7 separate regions of the Homo sapiens genome follow, and regions 1, 2, 3, 4, 6 and 7 are each linked to region 5. Evidence: promoter capture Hi-C in human tissues and cell types (Jung and others, 2019). All regions are on one chromosome and are shown on one strand. The core of a region is centred on a gene start or on the middle of the fragment in contact, and the rest is flanking DNA. Distances in the headings are between cores, read along the strand shown. Region 1 overlaps IMPG2 (interphotoreceptor matrix proteoglycan 2). Region 2 has its middle 160 kb from the start of IMPG2. Region 3 overlaps IMPG2 (interphotoreceptor matrix proteoglycan 2). Region 4 overlaps IMPG2 (interphotoreceptor matrix proteoglycan 2). Region 5 holds the start of PCNP (PEST proteolytic signal containing nuclear protein). Region 6 has its middle 73 kb from the start of ABI3BP. Region 7 holds the start of LOC124906356 (small nucleolar RNA U13).

Region 1 (2,914 bases), core at 405-2,904, 260 kb before region 5:
CAATGAGACATCATTTCAAACCTATAAGAATGGTTATACTTTTTTTAAAAAAAAGGAAAACATTGCTGGCAAAGATATGACTAAATCAGAACCCCCATACACTGCTGGTGGGATATAACACAGTACAATCACTTTGGAAATTAGTCTGGCAGTTCCTCATGTAGTTATAAAGTTACTATATGACCCAGAAATTCTACTCCTAGATAAATACCTAAGAGAAATGCAAACAATGTAAATGCCCATTGACTGACAAATGTGATCTATCCATACACTAAAATATTATTGGACCATAAAAAGGAATAAAGTACTGATACATGTACAACATGGATGAACTTTGAAAATAATATGCAAAGTGAAAGAAGCCAGTCACAAAAGACCATATATTATACGATCTTATTTTATGATATATCCAGAATACACAATTCTGTAAAGACAGAAAGTAGATTAGCGTTTACTTAGGCCTGGGAAGAGGGGGAAGGGAGATAAAAGGATAAAAGGATGATAGCTAAAGGGTCACATGTTTCTTTTTGAGGTGATAAAAATGTTCTTAAACTGACTGTGGTGATTTGGTATATCTGTGAATATACTAAAAAGCCACTTAATTTTGTAGTATGAATGGGTAAATTGTATCAAACTTGAATTACATCCCAATAAAAGCTGTAAAAAATGCAATTCCCTCTGGAAAGGGAATGCATGCTTAATCCAATGGCTTTTCAATTAGGAGCTATCTGACAAGAAGGTTCAACTAACTAACTTGGAATAACAGGATTCAGAATGGTTACATGTTCTGAAGCATTTGCACAGCTCAGAAAGGAGAAACCTAGATAGGACACTGTAGGCAGAAGAGAGAAGAGCAAAATCAGCATGACCTCCAGGCAAAGAGGTACTAAGGAAGGTAAAATTCCATCACTGATAAATACTGCATACTTCACTACTTGGCCTGTAACTAAACAGTTCAGAATTCCCATCCTTGTCAAATAAGGATATTATAGCCTTTGGTAACTTCTGAAGAGAGCTTTCTATTTTGAGAAGATGTACAAATGGGCTCTCTTCTAGCAGAAATAACCTGCCCTGGAAACTAGTGGTGGAAGGGAAAAATGTTATAATATTCTGAAGAAAATGCCAGCATTTAACCTGTCTTTAATCCTTCTACTAGATCTCCAGCTGTGTCTTATCTAAAACTTAGGAATCCAGAAATCCAGCATGGAATTATCTTTTTTTAGTGTAATATATTTTCCTTTCAGAATTGTGGAGCCCAAAGCATATGGAATAGTCCATTTTGGTGCAATAAGGCAAGAAAAAGAAATATAAGGCATAGAAATTGTTAAGTAGTATAACCATATTTGTAGATGAAATAATTATCTATGTAGAAAGCCCTAAGGAATATACCCAAAAAAGCTACTAGAACTGGTAAGTGAGTTCAGCAAAGTTGCAGGATAAAAGGCCAATATACAAAAATCAGTTGTATTTCTATATACTAGCAAGGAATAATCAGAAATTACATTTTTTAAAATATCACTAATAATAGATGAAAAAATGTGAAATCCTTATAAATAAATCTGATAAAAGATATGCAAGATCCATACACTAAACATTGGTTATATGTTCCTTCCATTCAATCAATAACATTGTCATTTATTTGGGATCTACAATGGCCCTAGAACTCTTAGCCAAATTCACTAAAACCTTTAAATATATTTTATATTATTATTATTCCCATTTCAAGGGTGAGGAAACTAAGATTTTAACAAATTGAATAATATTCCTAAAAACAAACAGCCAATAAACTTGTATCTCAGACTCAGATTTGCATAGCCCTGTGGCTCAAATATTGCATGGGACATACGTACACTAAAAAGATTATTTGTTGTCTATTTGAAATTGAAATTTAACTGGGTGTCCTGCATTTTTATATGCTAAATCTGGTAACCATATATATCAGTCAAGTATGGGCTGTGGATGGCTTCACTCCCTAGGACTCTAAACTTGTATAGTAAGTTTTAAACAAATGAAACTATACCCAGCGTTTGGGTCCTGAAACCTTCCATGGGCTGTTTCCCACTCTGATTCATTGGAAAATGCCAACTCATTCTTCGAAATCCAGGTTAACTAACTTCTATCACCCCAGGCATGGATGGCCATTCCCACTTGTGTCCTTCCCACATATACACTTTGTACAAACCTTTACTATTGCACACTCTACAGTGTTTTAATTATTGTGGTTAATACTATACCTGGTAGAATCAGTATAAATAAGATTTCATGTGTAAATTAACAAATGAATAAATGAATGAATAAAAATCAGAAAACATTCCTGAAAGAAACTGAAGATGACCTAAATAAATGGAGGGATATATCATGTTCATAGATCAGAAGACTCAATATAGGTTGAACATCCCTAATCCAAAAATCCAAAATGCTCCAAAATATGAAACTTTTTGAGTGCCAGCATGATACCACAAGTAGCAAATTCCACACCTGACCTCTTTTGATGGGTGACAGTCAAAATGCAGGCTCACTAGACAAGAGTACCCAAGGGAAAAAAGACTCTCCCAGCTCCCTTCAGCTGTGTTATATCTTTTCTGCCCATGTCCAGATTACTCCACCAAGCATACCTACAAGGGGTCATAAAATGGCACCCATGCAGACCAGACACACGAACAACAGTAATAAATAAAGTATGTTGTACAATAACCTTTAATCGAAACACAGAATTGTAGAAAGAAACTAGAAGCCTGCCATTGTTTGTTGTTACTGTTGTTTAACAGCTGAGGCAGGTATTCTGGTGATGCCACTGTTCTGTTTAGTACCCTGAACACATTCTTCTTCACTGTACTAACAGTATAGCATATTTTTTACTGTGAAGTACTGATATGTAAGTAAGTGTAAGAAAATTATTGTTTTTTTGTAGAAT
Region 2 (3,240 bases), core at 581-3,080, 420 kb before region 5:
GACTCAGATATTTTTATACACCAAAGTTCACAGCAACATTATTCACAGTAGCCAAAAACCTGGAAACAACCCAAATGTCTATCAACAGATGAATGGATAAACAAAATGTGGTATGTATACACAATGGAATATTAATGAGCCTTTAAATGAAATGGCATCATAATACATGTAACAACATGAATGAACCTTGAAAACAGTATGCTAAGTGAAATAAGCCAAACATAAAAGGACAAATAAATTGTATGATTCCACTATGTGAGGTACCTAGGATAGGCAAATTCATGAAGACAGAAAGTAGATTGGTGGTTACCTGTGGCTAGGGGGAAGGGAGATGGGGAGTTACTGTTTAATGAGTACAGTGTTTCTGTCTGGGATAGTGAAAACCTTTAATAGATGGATAGTGGTAATGAGTGCACAGGAATGCAAGTAAGCTTGATGCCACTGATTTGTCCACTTTAAATGGCTAAATGGTAAATTTTATGTCATGTATATTTCACCACAATAAAACAATAGAAAAAAATAATCCATTGAACACTTAAAGAACCTGATTGAAATTTCTGTCTTTTATTCTTCTCTATAAATTGTATGTGGACAATTTTTTACCAACAACAAAAAAGCTAAAAATAGAAATGAGTAGATCTTAGACAAACACATGTACTTGGAACCATTTTGTTTGTTTTATTTGCTCTATTTTATTATTGCCTGATCTGACACAAAGGATCAGACTCACACAAATCAAGATTATAGCCAGTGTCAAGCTTTCATCATGATGTAAAAGAGTCAGGTAATCCAGTAAAAGATTCAGGTTCCAGAAAAGCAGAGAGAAATTGGGGACTTTGAGAGCAGTTCCCCAGCTCCTTTCGGTTCATGACAGACATGAACTCTCTGGCCCAGAGTGAAAGACGGGGTCCACAATGGAGGTTTTGTGGTGTTATCTCCTACCATAAGGGAGCATTTTATGAAACATCTCTGTGTTATACCCCAGCTTTCATGTCATTTTTCAAGGATATCCTGCTAGGAGCATTCTACAGAAAAGACCCTTCTGCTAACATATTTCATTAGTGTATTTACCTGGAGTCCAGAATCACATTGACTAGGCACCTGCCTTCTTTCCCCCATTCCACTTGGAGCATCCCCCAGATAGTTGGGGGGAACTGAGTCAGAGTTCAACTGCATTATTTTTCTCCTTGTTATAGACTAACAGTTTATGTCCTCCCAAAATTCATATATTGAAGCCCTACCCCCAATATGATGAATTTGGAGGTGAAGACTTGGGAATTAATTAGGTTTAAATGTAGTCATGAGGGTGAGGCTCCCATGATGAGACTGGTGTCCTTATACAAATAGGGAGAGAGACCACAGTGAGCTCTGTCTCCACCATGTGAGGATACAGCAAGAAGGCAGCAACCTGAAAGCTAGTAAGAGGTTTTCACCAGGCACTGAATCTGCTGGCACCTTGATATTGGAATTCCTAGCCTCCAGAACTGTGAGAAATAAACTTCTCTGGTTTAAGTCACTCAGTCCACAGCATTTCGTTATAGCAGCCCAAGCTGACTGCTCAATGACTAATCACTTGGATTAAATAAGTAAACAAAATATGTATGTATGTACTTGTCTTTAGAAATAATCATTTAATATAGAAACCTGGGATATTTCCATGAGAGCTTTCTACTCCCCAAAGTTCAATGTCTAGACCTCCATACCAGGAACTCTCCTCAAACAAATGCATCAAAATCACCTGGTAAAGATAAGGAGGAAAAGGCAAAGCTTCCTTTGGATGGGTCCCCAAGTCCTTGTACAGCTCAACAAGGTGTCAGATTTAAGGAGCTATAATCAATGAAAACCTAATGTAGAAGGAAAATTGCTTTCACAAATTAGACTTCAGGCCAAAAGGAAATTAAGGGATGGATGCATCATTGCCTCAGAAGGGCTCTCCGAGGTCCACCCAGCTTATTCCATCTTTTATATTCTCTGTTGATGACCTTCCACAGCAAAGTTCTCATTCTCCACCTCTTTTTTTTTTTTCTTTTCTTTTCTTTTTTTTTTTTTGGACTACAGGATTTAGACAGTTCTTTGTATCCCAGGTCAACCTTGCCTTTGACAAAAATGTAAATTGCTCTTTGCTCCCAAATCCTTGATTTGGCCTCAGTCAATTCCACCCCAGGCCCAGCTCTCAGGACCTGAGGCTGAATCAGGACAGGTTCCCCACAGATCCAGGAGGAAAATCTGTGAGGAGAAACCCCAAAATGCTAGGATTAGTGGCAGCAGCAGGAGCCACCCCAACCTGATCACCACACAGAAGACTTGGTCGTTTCACCATCACTCACCCAGAGGACAGGATTTCTCTCTGCCCTGTACCTCCTACCCAAGTGACTCTTTTGTTAACCTTGGCAAAAGAGCAGTAACAGGGAGAGGCATAGGCCCTACTATCTTTAAACTCTCCTCAAAGTACCCCGATGGGGGTGGTGAGTCTGAACTCCACTGTCACTAGCTAGAATTATTAGCTTAATAGTGGTGCCAGGAAGTCACAGGAATGGAACCAAAGCTGGTGCCTCAGTTGTGAGCATATAGTGTCTCTAATTAATCCCACCTGGCTTCATATGATTATCTAAGCAGAAATGCTTCTGGCATTATTCGAACCATAGAATTCTGCTGGTAGCTACAGAACGTTTTCTTCAAAGCATGCAGCAATGCAAGCAGACAGAATAATTTGCTTCTTATAGATGTGCACACTGGACAAGAGACATCTTCTGAGTGAAATACTACCAGAAACATAACCAATAAGCATTTAAAAAACCCTTGTAAATGGTACCAAATGCAATTTTAAAAACTTTAGAAATTATGGCGGTTTAAATGTGAATGGCATTTTACAGCTTATAAAGAATTTCCACCCATCTTTCCACTTGAAAAGAAAATAGGAAGTTACTGTCATGCAACTCCAATATAAAAACAGCATAAGAAAACATAAGCCTGGTTATATAGGCTTCACAGAAATTCATAATGCTAGATAATTAATTCATGGGAAGAAAATGATTTGCTTTAAGCCACAGACTGTTTTCAAAAGCTTCTATGTTATGATGACAGCCGTTCTTCATAATCTTTATATTTCAGGCTCTGAAGAAAGCAAAATAAGATTTTCACCTCATTTATATGCATCAGAGAAGTGCAAGGAAACATTCCAATGAAACTCACTGTGGCAAAGAATCTATTTAATTGCAGCAATGTATTTGATGTGGGCTC
Region 3 (2,920 bases), core at 377-2,876, 350 kb before region 5:
TGGTTTAACCTGTCTCTTATTAACTCATAGCAGTAATGTAAGGTTTTACAAAATGCATGACTCAAGGAAATTTCCAGGCAATTCTTTACATCATGGTACCCTCCCATATTTCCACCTTCCGCCAGGATATCCTTTGTGGAATACAATGCAATGGATTTGAGAATAGTGACCGTCACATCATTTTTCTGCATTTATTACACAATTGGGAGAATAAGCTAGGATCTTGACTCACTGCAGCTGGATTGTAAATGAGGAAGGCTGGCCCCACCCATTCCTACTGGGAATTGTTAGAAATGTTTTAGAAAAAAATAAAACAAAACAACCCGTTTGGGGTTTGTGTTTTTGTTTTTTTGCTAAAACATCTCAATTTAATAGTTATTCTACTTCATTAGCTCTTTCATTATGGAATAAATATGTTGTCTTCTCTTCCGTTGCAAAATGAAAATTCAATTCAGAGACAGAAAGATGTCAAAGTACCCATTGCTGAAAACAGAAATAACATAAAGCTACCAAAAAAATCATGAAATGGAAGTCAAACTTATAAAACAAGCATACAAATGAATAATTAGTTCAGGTATCATACTTCAGCCAACCTACTTTTAGAGCCTACAAAGAATATTTGTGCAGTTTCCAGCTTTTTGTTAGAGGTAATATTAAGTCAGAGTTGTTCAAACACATTACAATTTAGTGTGGCAAAAAAGAGAGAAAAGAATAAAAAAGAGAAAGTGGGGAGGAGCCAACCCATGGTGACAGATAATGCAGAAGAAGAAAACAGAAGGTGAGAATAAAATCAGGTAAAGCCTGCACTTGTTTTATTATATAAATTAAATGGGGCCAGGTGCGGTGGCTCATGCCTGTAATCCCAGCACTTTGGGAGGCCAAGGCAGGTGGATCACCTGAGGTCAGGAGTTTGAGACCAGGCTGGCCAACATGGTGACGGTGAAACCCCATCTCTACTAAAAATATAAAAATTAGCTGGGCATGGTGGTGGGTGTCTGTAACCCCAGCTACTCAGGAAGCTGAAGCACGAGAATCGCTTGAACCCAGGAGGCAGAGGTTGCCAGGAGCTGAGATCGCCCCATTGCACTCCAGCCTGGGTGACAGAGCGAGACTCCATCTCAAATAATAATAGTGATAAAAATGGGACTTCAGGCCACATAAACGTGAACAAACACCCTTAAACCATTGCAATGGTGAAAATGGAGCCCTATTTATCAAATAAATTCCCCTTTATCCATAACCCATAAAAAAGGATAGTGTATATAATTCAATTATAAAGGCTACATCTGTAAAACACCACAGTATCTTACAACCTTTTATAATAACATTTTTAAAATGGTTATTTACCATGCATTTTATTGCTAACTGCATTTTAGTATTTTCACATAAGGTGATAGTCTTGTTGAATATTATATTGCTAGGTTAAGAAGAACGTTCTAATACTCAGAAAATTTCATTCCTCAATTGTGCAGTGTAAATGACAGTTCAGCCTAAGACTTTTAAATGATGACATGCCATTAAATCACCTTCGAGGAAGGTCTTTTAGAAAGAAGCTCTTTAGGGGTAGTTTTTTCCATCAAACTAATAGCTCCTTTAGTGCTTTGCTTTGTACATGAGTGGATGGATCTTTGCTGGGCAAACTGTGTTCTTCAACCTTTCAACAGTGGTTCAGCTATAGCAAAGGCAGGACAAAAGTTGTATTCCTCAACTGAGGCCTCCTGTTCTTTCCCTGATAGTTGAGGGGCTCCTTTACTCTTCCATTTCATTGGTGTGGAGCAGACATTCATGAAGAGCTAAGTGTTTTGCTCTTGCATGAAAAGGTCACGCAAAAGGAAATCAGAGATGGTGACGTGTGTCAGAATTCCCAAATTCCCACTTCACTGCTTAGTTTGTGGAAAACAACAACCCTCCTCTGGCTCAGTTCGTGCTTCTCCTAAGTGTTCTGCATGGTGACCTGCCCTAGAGGGATTTGTGTCCATCTGGAATTCTTCCAGCAAGCACACATTCAAAGAGTTGCATTCTAAGGTTAATTTGTGATAAAATACACTTTCATCTAACACGTAGTATAGGAAAACAGTTTACAGTCTTAAACAGAAAACTTTGAAAGTTTTATAAATAAAACTAAGCACTTAGTAGTGACAAATATCATTAACACTTAAAATGTCTTAAAGGTAATTATCAATTACTTTTCAAATGGGCCCAGTGGAAAGTGTCTAATTATCCAATATTAAGACTAGAACATGTCAATAAAATAGTGGAAAGTGTACCTATACTGAACTGTTAGAGGATCCATTATGTGAGTAGGGAATGAAAGGAAATGCTAGGATAAGGGAGCCACCTTGGCGCGGGCGCACATGCGCATTAGCGCGCACACGCACACACACATACACGCACACACACATTCACACATACACACACACAACCTGTTATCCATACATACTTTGCAAAATACCTGGCCATCTTCAAGGCTTTCACTAGCTTTACTGTGGCATGCACTGAGCCCAGATATTTAGTTTCCGGTGTCCTCATAATGAGCAGAATTGGCAGTCATCAAGTTGAGAAAAAAAAAAGTGAACCAAGTATTTTATCTTATGGTCAGTTTATACTGGTTATTTATATCTGGTCAGAAATAAATCAAAATGTTCAGAATTGGTTTTGGCAAGCATGAAGACATCTAGCATAAAGTATCTGCATTAATAATAACCTATTGCATATGCAATTTAATATCATGATGATGATGATTTGGCCTCCTCCTCTCCCCCTCCAAAGCAACCCATTCAAAAAAAACACTAGGGGGAAAGAGGAAAATTTCCATTTTCTGTCAAAATTTATATAAGGTATGGACTTCCTATCTGTTCAGTTTTTAAAATATTTTAATTGTAATAAAAGCTTTGCCCTGTTTTGTATAAGCAGGAGTTAA
Region 4 (3,020 bases), core at 295-2,794, 290 kb before region 5:
CATGGACTCACAGCCAGGCCACATGGTACGTATTCAATATGCTGACAACTGATGGTTTGAGAAACATTATCATGGAGAAGTCTGTCTAATATAAAGTAGTTACTTTCTAAATCTTTCTTCATTTGAAGTTAGTGCCTTTGAATTTCAGCAGATATGATTTTGAAATTGGTACAAATATCTACAGAAAAGTTCATTATATCATTTTTAATTTTAAATTTTTATAAATTTTGGTAGATTTACGGGGTACAAGTGCCATTTTGTAACATGGATACATGGTGTAGTGATGAAGTCTGGGCTTTTAGTATGTAAATTATAGAAACCATTTAAATACTTCTTTTCATTCTTCATGTTTGTCTTTCTCATTCACACACATATATGTACAACAAAGAAAACTGATTTTTTAATCTCTGAATGATGTAAAATATCCTAATAATTTAAATACATATGCATTATAGCATAGGGGTTGAATACTGGCTTTGTGACCTTGGACAAGTCCCTTAAATTCTCTACGCCATAATTTCCTTCTCTTTAAGAGAAGGATAATATTAATACCTACCTCATTATATTGTTCAGAGGATTAAGTAAATTAATACAAGTAATAAAGTACCTAGAACAATGTCTGGCCTATAACTAATACATTAGTATTAGCTAATATTTTTAATTTTATTAAAATGACTCTAATTAGGTGATTATTGAGTATGGTTATTCTAAAACATTTAAAAGGGCAAATATCATTGTCCATTCTTGTGAGTAAGAAGCTTTTTACAATATTCTAAGTAACTGCTGATATGTTAGTATTTTTAGTTATTAGGCCCAGATTTACAGTGAAATGGCATGCTTCAATATCCAATCTAGAAAAATAAATTATGGTCTACCTCTTATAGTGGTCTACCATGAAGTCTACCAGCCTAATTCTATGACAAGATAATGAAGAAAAAGTCTCATCTCTCTTCCCCTTGGCATCTTTATGATGTTTTAACATTCAAGTGCATATCAGTACTTTGAATGCTTGGAAATTATACTGCCTCAACATTTGTAGATATATGTACTCACACTATATATGCCTCGCATTACCAGTCTAGCTTCCGATGGCATGTGCTGCATTATAGGCTAGTTCTCATGATGGAAAACCTTCTCTTCACATGAGCAGAATCATTCTACCTTCTCTGTAAAAATTCCTCTTGGGAGTTGGGATGGTGAAGGAGAGAATGAAGGTGTTTGTTTCCAGCTGATGCACAGAAAGATGGGACAGTTTGAATCAGCAGGCAGGAGAACCCAAGGAAATGAATGAGATGATCAATTTGGGGCAGCTCCAGAGAAAACCCATTATGCTTTAGCCAATTAACAGACTTTCATTCATTTCCCCTCCTTCTCTAATCACCTCCTAGTAGTTGTGAATGAGGTGCACTGTGATCAGGTATTTATTAGTTGATACATTATGCAAGAAATAAATCTCTTAGCAGGAAAAAAGCACAGATCTAAATTTTTCCTCTTTGAATGATGAAATCCAGTAAGGTCTGAAGTTAGGTTTTCAGGAATATTGTGTTACTGTCAGGGTATAGTAACACAGAATCTATTGGAACAAAATGTACTTAGCTTGTAACCATGATTAATTAATATGGAAACATAGCCTTTGCAAAATTTACAGTGTGGCAACCTTGGCCACACCCAAAGCTGAATCAATCAAAAGAGTCTCATGCTCATGGATTGGAAGAATCAATGTCATTAAAATGACCATACTGCCCAAAGCAATTTACAGATTCAATGCTATTCCTATCATACTAGCAATGTCATTCTTCACAGAATTAGAAAAAGCTACTTTAAAATTCATGTGGAACCAAAAAAGAGCCTGAATAGCCAAAGTATCCTAAGCAAAAAGAACAAAGCCAGAGGCATCACACTATCCAACTTCCAACCACACTATAAGGCTACAGTAACCAAAACAGAATGGTACTGGTACAAAAACAGACAAATAGACCAATGGAACAGGATAGAAAACTCAGAAATAAAGCTTCACATCTACAACCAACTGATCTTCAACAAGTCTGACAAAAATGAACAATGGGGAAAGGACTTCCCATTCAATAAATGCTGCTGGGATAACTGGCTAGCCATATGTAGAATAAAAAAAACTGGAACCCTACCTTTTATCATATACCAAAATTAACTAAAAATTGATTAAATATTTAAATGTAAGACCTCAAACTATAAAAATTCTAGAAGAAAACTTAGAAAATATCTTTTTCAACATTGGCCTTGGCAAAGAATTTATGGCCAAGCCCCCAAAAGCAATTGCAACAAAAACAAAAATTGACAAGTGGGACTTCATTAAACTAAAGAGCTTTTGCACAGCAAAATAAACTATCAACATACTAAACAGACAACCTACAGAATGGGAGAAAATATTCACAAACTAGGCATCTGACAAAGGTCTAATATCAAGAATCTATAGGGAATTTAAACAATTCAACCAGCAAAAAGCAAATAACCCCATTAAAAAGTAGGCAAAGGAAAAGACACTTCTCAAAAGAAGACATACATGAGGTCAATATATGAAAAAATGCTCAGCATCAGTAACACTCAGGGAAATGCAAATCAAAACTACAATGAAATACCATCTCACACCAGTCAGAATGGCTACTAAAAAGTGAGAAAATAACAGATGTTGATGAGGTTGCAGAGAAAAAGAAATGCTTATATACTATTAGTAGGAATGTAAATTAGTTCAGCCACTGTGAAAGCAGTTTGGAGATTTCTCAAAGAACTTAAAACAGAGCTACCATTCAAACCAGCAATCCCATATCATTATATCAAAAAGCCACATGCACTCATATGTTCATCATTAGCTATTCATAACAGCAAAAACATGGAATCAATCGAGGTGCCCATCAATGGTGGATTGGATGAAGAAAATATGGTACATATACACCATGGAATACTATGCAGCGATGAAAAAGAATGAACTCATGTCCTTTGCAGCAACTTGGATGGAATTGGAGGCCATAATCCTAAGTGAATTA
Region 5 (2,965 bases), core at 353-2,852:
AGAATCGCTTGAACCCAGGAGGCGGAGGTTGCAGTGAGCCAAGACCATGCCATTGCACTCCAGCCTGGGTGACAGAATGAGAGACTCCATTCCACCCCCCATAAAAAATTACAAGCATCTGTAAATACATAATCTCAAATAAAAATCTTCGTGTATATCTCCATTTTTAAAATGATAGAAACGAGAGTCTCAATGATTACCTTGAAAAGATCACAAGGAAAATGAAACAAACATGAATTAAGTACCTGTAAGATAGTTTGCTGGTTACTTTTACATATATGATAAATGATGGATCAGGGACTTCAACCTAGATCACAAAATCACCACCACACTGCCCTGCTTCTGTCATGGGAAACACACTTTGATAATTTCTTCATTCTTTCTCCACTCCCTGGACTTGAAGCCCGAGAAGTAATCCATCCGCAAATATTGAACACTTTTTATATTCATATATGAAACGCACAGTACACAGTTTTTAAAAACTGGTCTCTGTTGTCAAGGAACTTTTGAGCCATTCAGAGAGACAACACTTAAAACACACACACACACACACACACACACAAACTGAGGGAAGTATGAAGTGACCAAATAATGGTATACAAAGATGATCTCATTTGATCCCTATTACCACTCTTTGAGGAGGTACTATTATTATTGCTCTTTTATAGAGAAGAAAAGGTAGCTCTGTAGGCAGTAAGCAAGTCTCAAGGTTACTCAAGCAGGAAAGGGCAAAACAGATTCAAATCCAAGTTCTGACTCCTAAGACTTTCTCTAACTATATATGGTAAGACAAACCCAGAAACTCCAGTTCCCTAAGCAAGTAATAGACCCCATTTGGCTAGGAGGGCTGGATAAATACTGAGAAAGGGGGAAGATGAAGCCGAAAAGGTAGGCTAGGGCCTAATGTAACTCACGGACTTCAGAATGCAGACTGTAGGAATCCACTAAAGGTTTCTTATTAAGGCAGAAATTACTGCAGTCTTAACTTGACATAGTAGTTTCTCAACTTGGTAGAAGCAGACTATACAAAAAGTAACTTTACAGTTGGCTACGTGACTTAGACAAATTACTCTCTCTGACCTCAACTCTTACAGGTAATTGAGAGGAGAATTCTATATTTGGACAATCGCCGTGATTAAACGAGTGTATGAAAGGCGTCTGAAGCTAGGGGGCGCTAGATAAACACTGATTTCCCCTTTAGGGAAAAAGAATGCAGGCTTTTTGTTTACATAGAGTTGGCAGGCATGCGTTATCCAGCAAGGCCGGAACGGAAGACACTCTCAGCCTCAGCTGCAACCACATCTGGGTATGCAGAAACCTTCTAAGATCCCAGCGTTTCCAGGGAGATGCTCCATTTCCCCTCACTTCTCCGGACCTGTCGCTAGACCATGAAGACCTGACTGCCCTCTAATAAAGTGCCTAGCCAGCACTCTTAGACCGCCCAACCTTCCCAGCTCTTCCTTCCGAGGCGGCTACTCGATGACATCACATCCACTTCCGCTTCCGAAGGCGGCCTCTTTTCATTCCTCGGGACCGCTCTAGGCTGCCACCACGCCGGCTGGCCCCAAAAACTCGATGGTTGTTGGGCGGGGTCGTGACGTCCTTGGCGTGGCTGCAGGGGAGGCCGCGGCGGGGAAAATGGCGGACGGGAAGGCGGGAGACGAGAAGCCTGAAAAGTCGCAGCGAGCTGGAGCCGCCGGAGGTGAACACAACCCCAGCGTCGTGGGCAGCGTGGGATGCTCCGGGCCTTTCTTTGAGCTCCCAGGGTGGGGGGAGTGGGGTGGGGCGAGAATGGGCGGATCTGGACCTCACCCGGCCAGGTGTTGGGCCCAGACCTGCCTCGGGCACGCCCGATGCGGCCCTCTGGGCTCCGGGCCTACATCGCCTCCTTGCCTGGGGAGAGCCGGCCACTGTTCGTCACCTCCTGGCCCCAGCGGAGGCCCTGATTCCGAGGAGAAGGGAGATGGGCGCCAGAAAGGGAGACCGAACTCGGGGTGGGACCAGGAGCGGCGGTGCAGGAGCCGCTACCGCCACACCGGAGACGCACATCACACAAAACACACACACCGGAGACGCTCATGAGACATAACATACACACAGTGCGAGCCACCGAGTAGTTGCCGCGGGAACTGGCCGCAGGCTGAGTTTCTGACGGTGCCGGCCTCTCAGTTACACGCAGGAGTTAATTACGCTTGCTGCTCCCTTTTCACTGAGGAGGTGGACAACTCCGGCCTGCTCTCTTTCCTTTACTTCCAAGTTTAATATTGACCCTGTGACAGGATGGGCCGAGGTGATGGAGGGGAAGAGGAATGCCTTTGCCTGCCCTCTGGTTTAAGCTGCGGGGTCTAGGGCTAAGGTTTGGTTGCTTTTCTTTGAAGTATCTCCCTTAGGCTGTTGCCAGCTGACCGCTTGCCAGATACTTAGGCGACTAAATAGTCTAGCGTGACTCTTCCTGTATTTTGTTACGACGTTAAACTCAGGTTACAGCTATCCTTATTCTGTCCATTCCACTCCCTAAATTCGGGTCTTGTGCGTGAAGGAAAAGAAACGTAATCTCTCCAGCTCCCTCTTTGCACATAACAAGACAAGTGACTTAACACGTGCGAGCTGTTTAAAATGTTTTTAGAACATTTTAAACATTATTCTCTATTCTGACCACCTTAGTTATCATTCCCGAAATTATTTAATATGAGAAAATAGAAACGATTAATAGCATATGAAGGCCACTAGTAGACCTACTAACATAATGTTTCATGTTAATTGCCTTGGGAACAAAAATTATTGAAAAGATTAAGTGTAATGTTAATTACTTTGGACCCAGGATTTCCTTTTTAAAAAACACGTACAATTCTGTTAGTTAAGCTGGAACTCCATCTCTCTCTTCCCTCCCCACCCCCTGTCTTTTTTTTTTTTTATAACTAGTAAAATACCTTATGAAAGAACAATTTAAATTTAAACCATCTAC
Region 6 (3,086 bases), core at 582-3,081, 510 kb before region 5:
AACAGATGGAAGTAATCACAGCTAAAACTCCCACCCCTTCTTCTCTTCTGCTGGCCCAATTTTTTCCAAGGGCACATCTGGGCCTGGGATGGGTCCTTTTTATAGTTTTCTCAAGAGCATGTGATTAAAACATTTCATGTGTTTAATTAAAGGCTTTTGTGTGCACTATGTGCAGTGAGGACCTCATGTCTTTCCAAGATCACATATCTGAACTGTGACACTGTGAACCATTAATATCTCAATCTGAAATCAAGTTCACTAAATCTGAATGAATGGGTGGTTAGAGAAAAGGAGGAAGAGGAGGAAATGAATTGCTATAAATTAAGAATGTATTATAGAACATGAGCATTGGCAAATCTATTCATGTCTATATACAAGCCTCTCCCCCTAGATCAGTCTTCTTTTGGAATTGAATGAGCCTGAGAAAACATCTAGTCCAAACTCCTCACCTGACAGATGAAACCAAAACCCTAAAAGATGATGTGATACACCCTGGATTATACAGCTTGACATCACCTGACCCAGGACTAGAACACAAGGCTCCTAATTTGCTTCTAGGGTTCTTCTCATTGTAGCCTTAAAACACAAGACTGAAATTTTAAAGCCTAACTCTAAGAAAAGCACATAAAACAGGGAACTAAAATAGCACTAAAATAGGGCTCTGATATGGAAGTCCTCACATCCTGAATGACTGGGATGGATCATTTGTATTGCAAAAATTAGCCTTAGGAATCTCCTGTAAGACTTTTCCTGTTTTTCATTGCTATACCCTAGTTTCCACTTGGCCCTATCACCCACACCTCATCAAACTGGAAATATTATAAAACCTTGATTAATGCATGAAATGCATGGATTTCTCAAAGGAATCTGATCCCTGAGATGGGATGAAAGTTACTAATATTTAAATCCAATAAAATAAGAGTAAGAATAAAAGTAATAATAACAGCTAATATTTAGGAACATTTTCTTTGTACCAAGAGTATACTGATTGTATTACGTTTCATAGTTTGTTCTTACAATAGCTATGTGAGCAGAGTGCTACTATCATACCAACTTTACCATCAAAAAAGATTTAAATGATCTTTCCATTATTGGGTAGCTTGAAAGTGGGGTAACCAGTATTGAAGCCCAGGACTGCCTGATATAAAAAATCTGCTCTTCCCTCATCCCACACTTGGCAGTCATTCCTCTACAATACAAGAACAACTTTTAAGACATTCTCCTTCCAAAACTCTCATTGAATATAACCCTTCATAATCCAAGGTAGCTGGGGCTTATAAAAACACACATTCGGAGGCATGTTCTTCTGATGCGAAGCCTTTAAAAAAGAGAGGTGAAATAACAGAATAGGCAAGGAAATCAGTGCCTTTGGTTTTGTTACTGTTCAAGTACTACCCTTGTCAGAGAACTGCAGTTGTTCTCAAATGATTCAGGGAAAAAAACACCCTTCTGAGTCAGTAAGTTCGGCTGAAAGACAAGAGAAAATCAAGCAGAGTCATTCTAAACCAATGATTCATTGACCTTGGAAATCTGGCTAGTAGATGTCTAATAAAAACAAACCCTTTCAGTTTAAGAGATGAGATATTTACTCCATACCTAATGAAAAGTACAGAGAACTTAGAGAAATTAAATATTTTTTCCTAACACAAAACCTGGACAGATTTCTTCTTTTTCAAGGACAAGTAAAACAATATTAAGTAACATAAAGAAAGGAAGTACTGCCTTAGGGATACAGGGTATGCACAAAAAACGATTAACCATAAGAAACTGAAGATATTTTTAGAAATTATCTACTTTGCATTTTTCATAAATTAAAACAGCGTTTTCTGAAACATAAGAAATGAGTTTAAGATAAACTAGAATAAAGGGTAAGATTAAAATTAAAAAGGAATTGATCAGTACAAGGAAAGAATGCATTAAGTTAAGGGAGAAGTTTTGTTCTCTCGTCATTACCAATTTTCTTGCCACAAACAATTACAAAAGCTAAATAAAAGATAAAGAAAAATGTTTGAATGCAACAGTGAAGGGATCAAAGAGCAACCGAGGCTATCAGAAGTTGAAGGGCAATTATCCCATAAAGAAGAGAGACAGACTAATATGAACACATTTTTATAACTGTCTTTCCTCAGAGGTGTTGGTGATGTAGACCACCATTTCTAAGCAGAAAGTGGTAAGCTGGCACTGACAGCAGCCTCCCCAGGCTGGGCAGACACAGACCAAAGAAGCCAGAATGTAACAGGGAAAAGGGAATGCAGAAAGGATAGCTCAAAATACTACAGCAATTTGCCCTTCAGCCATTTGCCAACTGCTAAGTTTTACTCATACAGATTGAGACTTGAAAAAACAAGGAAAAAGCCCCAGCTCAGATGCCAGAGAGTGAAGCCAAGATTTCAGCAGTTTTTCAGTCCATCAGAGAGACAGAAGTCTGAATTCACAACCCAGTATGGTGGGGGGACCTTAGTAAAAAACTCCAGGCTCTCAGTTGAGACATAAAAGAGAAAATATATACGTACTTGAAAGCATCAGGTCATGCCAGAGTTTCTCCAATATGCATAAATTGCCTATATATATATTATATATATGTCCATTCTATATATATATAACATGTCCATTCTACTTTTTTTTGTATTTCACTGCTTTCTCTCTTTTTCTCTTTGTCTCTATAAATTTCTGCTTTTAATCTAGTTGTAATTTTATAATTTAATGCTTAATTTATTCATTCTTGTTCTTCAAGGTCAATACTTTTACTAATAGCAGCTTTATAAAGCTATAACTCATAAGTTTTGGCATATATATATGATATATATATTTCTATGTAGTTAAAATATCAATGGTTAATATCAAATATACATATAAGATTAAGCAAAATAAAATTCAGATTCCTTTATGCCAAAACTTATGACTTATAGCTTTATAAAGCTGCTATTAGTAAAAGTATTGACCTTGAAGAACAAGAATGAATAAATTAAGCATTAAATTATAAAATTACAACTAGATTAAAAGCAGAAATTTATAGAGACAAAGAGAAAAAGAGAGAAAGCAGTGAAATACAAAAAAAAGTAGAATGGACATGTAATTGATAAACA
Region 7 (3,322 bases), core at 143-2,642, 370 kb before region 5:
TGACCCCATCCCCCTAGCTTCTGATGCAGCAGGTCTGGGGGACATCTGAGATGTGCACTTCGGGAATGGACCCAGACAATGCTGATGCTACTGGTCCAGGGACACAATTGGAGAACGACAGATCTACATACAGATAATTATAACGAAGAAGTGCAGAGAGAAACCTGAGCAAGAGCTGTTCTTTGAGAATTCTGATTGAGGACTCCTTTCCAAATACAGATTTAAACAACTTATTGAGGTCATTCTGCAAACTATTAAACCTGAGCATAAAAATATGGCCCAGAAAGATGGGTTTTCCATGCCTGATTAAATGAATAACTTGCTAATGTGGAGCATAACATTTGACTTAAAATATAGCCATTATGCAGGGTGATCATTTCCAGCAGGGAAAGCCCTAGAAAAACAAACCGTATTCCTCAAACTTCAATCAGTGTAAAAAACAATTCTCAATTCTTTTGTGGTTTATAAGCATAATGGTTGGGTTTTTATATGCATGTGTGAAATGTACTTCCCTCAAACCTTGTTACAATGTCAGCACATTACCCACCTGACATGAAAATAATAAAGTAAAATAATTATCCTTTCATCATTCAGTGGCTCTTTTTGTTTCCGTAATATATATTTTATGCTTAAGTATACTTAGCTTCAAGTATCTTCATTTTTTCTTTTTAATAACTTAATCAGTACCAATGCTTCAAGTAACTTTACAAGAATAATTTTGCAATACTATCAAATACCTAGGATTTATATTTAAAATCTGGTTCACCTTGAAAATCTAATGATCTTCTAAATTATGTAAGTTTTTGCAGTGGTAGTTAGGATAGGACTTGTAACTTTTATAAGACTGGATATTCAAGTTTTTAAATCTTAACTATCACTAAAATATTTACACAGGTCCCAAATGAATATTAATATGACTAATATCACCAAAGGAATCTCTAATTAAGGCTTAAGCAATCTTTCTAAAATGGTATTAGGAACATGCCTTTCAGAATAAGGTGAATTGAGCATGTTCCCAAAAATCCTGCAAATAATGTATAAATTTAGTTAAGGGCAAAAAAATTAGCGGGGAAAATAGACCTATGAGCTTTCTTGACAGCAAATTGAAAGTCAAGAATGTGATGTGGCTGCCACTAAAAATGAATACTTTCCAGGTAAAGAGATGCGACATCCATTTTATTCAGTGGTAGACAGACCACTTCTGAAATGCTGTATTGATTCTGTAGACATCTAAGAGACTCATCAACAAACGGGAGGCTTCAGAGATGGCTAGGATGGTAAAGGGTCTGAAAAACATGTCTTTTGGGGAACATTTGAAAGAACTTAGAGTGAATGACTAGGGAAGAGTTGGATGTCACAGGTAAGGGTGACACAGACACACGAATGATCTCTGGAAATATTTGAAGAGCTGTCAAAAAAGAGAGAAATTTAACTTCCTCTTTTTCTCAGCAAATGGCAGAATAGAAACACATGAGTGTATCAGGAAGGTTAAGAGCACAGCTTTGAAGTCAGACTGTGGAATTAAGACTTGGTTCCAGCCATTGTTGGATATGTAAACTTGGCAAACTAGTTGTTCATTAGGAAAAAAGCAATATTAGAAGTACCCATCCTTAGGTAAGGACTAAATGAGATGATAGATGTGGCAGACTCAGAACAATGCCTGACAAATGTTCAGATAACCGTTTGCATCAGTTAATTTAATAGAGACGCCTGAAAATGCATTGAGCCACTTCTAGAAGGAAATTTAGCAAAGACTAAATGACCATCAGCCAGGGATGCTGTGGTAAGTATCCCTGCATTGGGTAGAAGAACTAGGTAACCTGTAAAAACCCTCTCAACTCAAAAATTCTTCACTGTTGTTAACTAGTGCTTCACTCTCCCTCCCCTGTGCTCACAGCACTTTGTTCAACCAGTATTACAGAATTTATCACACTTTCTCATCAGTAGTTATGAACATGTCTGTCTCCCACCTAGTTGGTGAGCTCCTCAAGGTCAGACTATGCTTCATCCATCTTTGTCCCCTGTGCATCTTGCCCAGTGCCTGGCATACAGCAAGATTCAATAAACACTTGTTGAAGAAAGAAGATGCTCAGGGCTCAGGGCTAATGTGGACTCCTGGCTGCTTCTCTATCTGTGTGACAATTCCTCCAGGAAAGGGCCCAGCTAATATTCAATCCAGGAAGCTTTCGAATTCTTGTGGTTATGCTAGAAATATGACTTGGCGGGCATGACTTTTCTAGGTGAATAAGCATTCTAACTGCACAGCGTTAAGTACATTGTGAATTTATGACATTTGGACCGATTCCTGATCCCCAACATGTGAAGTCTCCTCCTGGCCGCAGGCTGTGGCTCTTTCAGTTGATGCACATACTCTCTGCTGTCCTGTTCTCCAGCTGATGAAGTGGTTCAGTCCACACTCATGGAGATCCTTATGGACATCTTCCTTTTTCTGTACTAGAAGTTCCTAAAAGTGGTAAGAGGCTTAAAATTGCACTCCAGCTATAATATTCAAAATTAAAAAGACACCTGGTCATCTATCAGGAAACTATGCTTGCATGATTACTAACTCTGATTCTTGTAGTGTCTAACTTCTTCTCTGGATAAAACTGAGGCATCTTTCAGATCCCAGATTTATTGATCTTTAATGCTTGCTCAAGTACTTACCAAAATATTATTGTTCCTTCAGCCACTCAATAAATACTTGATGAGTAACTAAGAAGTATCCTAATGCCATGACAGCTTCCAAACTTGCCTAAATTATAACCATGGAGGAGCTTATGTACTCAGAGAAAGTGGTTTAACTGTCATTCAGTGGAGGAAAAATGTTTTAATACTTTATACATTGAATTAAACCTGTTCTTAAAGAACCAAAACTCGCCAAACTACCTAAAAACTCAGGATGGGAGATGAACAGAAGTAGCAAATGAACTGCCTGCCCTGGTAACCCACAGCGTTTTGCCATGTGATTCTAAACAAACTGACAGTGGGTCTGTTCCAACACCATGTGCTCCCCTGTTCTGGAATGTAGTGAAGGGAAAATCTGAAAGGAAAGCCAATCTTGGCAAAACCTCTTTTGTTCTCTCACATATTCCAAAGATGTGAGGCTCAGGGAGCACTCAAGTCCCCAGACCTGGGCATGACTAAACCTGACTTTTACAAACTTCACAACAATTTCCCTTCTGTTTCCAACAGTGTGTGCAGCACTGAGAACACAGAACCTACCCAAACTGCAAAAACAAGAAAGTACATGTTTTCCATCAGGACCAGCTTCTTCAGTAATAATTGGTTATTTCTTTCTGATATTCTTAAAGCCCGTTCTCTT

The links. Contacts are between HindIII fragments. The study calls those that stand out against the background at their distance.
Region 1: a contact is called between a fragment that was not itself captured here and the fragment with the promoter of PCNP in region 5, in 1 of the 25 tissues and cell types used here (mesenchymal stem cells).
Region 2: a contact is called between a fragment that was not itself captured here and the fragment with the promoter of PCNP in region 5, in 1 of the 25 tissues and cell types used here (mesenchymal stem cells).
Region 3: a fragment that was not itself captured here is called in contact with the fragment with the promoter of PCNP in region 5 in 1 of the 25 tissues and cell types used here (mesenchymal stem cells).
Region 4: a fragment that was not itself captured here is called in contact with the fragment with the promoter of PCNP in region 5 in 3 of the 25 tissues and cell types used here (IMR-90 fibroblasts, mesenchymal stem cells and thymus).
Region 6: a contact is called between a fragment that was not itself captured here and the fragment with the promoter of PCNP in region 5, in 1 of the 25 tissues and cell types used here (lymphoblastoid cells).
Region 7: a fragment that was not itself captured here is called in contact with the fragment with the promoter of PCNP in region 5 in 1 of the 25 tissues and cell types used here (aorta).

The regions. Positions count from the first base shown.
Region 1 is chr3:101,312,461-101,315,374 of GRCh38, forward strand. All of the region lies in intron 2 of IMPG2 (interphotoreceptor matrix proteoglycan 2), which reads right to left. Among named protein-coding and RNA genes, the nearest start is that of IMPG2, 6.7 kb to the right of the region's middle. The HindIII fragment of the contact is 6,029 bases long and covers 1-2,914 here.
Region 2 is chr3:101,157,041-101,160,280 of GRCh38, forward strand. No RefSeq gene overlaps it. Among named protein-coding and RNA genes, the nearest start is that of IMPG2, 160 kb to the right of the region's middle. The HindIII fragment of the contact is 4,319 bases long and covers 1-3,240 here.
Region 3 is chr3:101,223,025-101,225,944 of GRCh38, forward strand. It overlaps IMPG2 (interphotoreceptor matrix proteoglycan 2), which reads right to left. Exons shown (of 19, transcript NM_016247.4): 19 at 1-2,920. Among named protein-coding and RNA genes, the nearest start is that of IMPG2, 96 kb to the right of the region's middle. The HindIII fragment of the contact is 5,403 bases long and covers 1-2,920 here.
Region 4 is chr3:101,285,572-101,288,591 of GRCh38, forward strand. The region is part of intron 4 of IMPG2 (interphotoreceptor matrix proteoglycan 2); the gene reads right to left. Among named protein-coding and RNA genes, the nearest start is that of IMPG2, 33 kb to the right of the region's middle. The HindIII fragment of the contact is 4,277 bases long and covers 1-3,020 here.
Region 5 is chr3:101,572,578-101,575,542 of GRCh38, forward strand. PCNP (PEST proteolytic signal containing nuclear protein) reads left to right here and starts at 1,603. Exons shown (of 5, transcript NM_020357.3): 1 at 1,603-1,702. The coding sequence starts at 1,639. RefSeq lists enhancers at 814-1,759, 1,203-1,472, 1,573-1,702, 1,783-1,942, 1,963-2,122. The HindIII fragment of the contact is 9,941 bases long and covers 1-2,965 here.
Region 6 is chr3:101,064,681-101,067,766 of GRCh38, forward strand. No RefSeq gene overlaps it. Among named protein-coding and RNA genes, the nearest start is that of ABI3BP, 73 kb to the left of the region's middle. The HindIII fragment of the contact is 3,799 bases long and covers 1-3,086 here.
Region 7 is chr3:101,201,383-101,204,704 of GRCh38, forward strand. LOC124906356 (small nucleolar RNA U13) reads left to right here and starts at 450; the gene lies at 450-553. The HindIII fragment of the contact is 5,383 bases long and covers 1-3,322 here.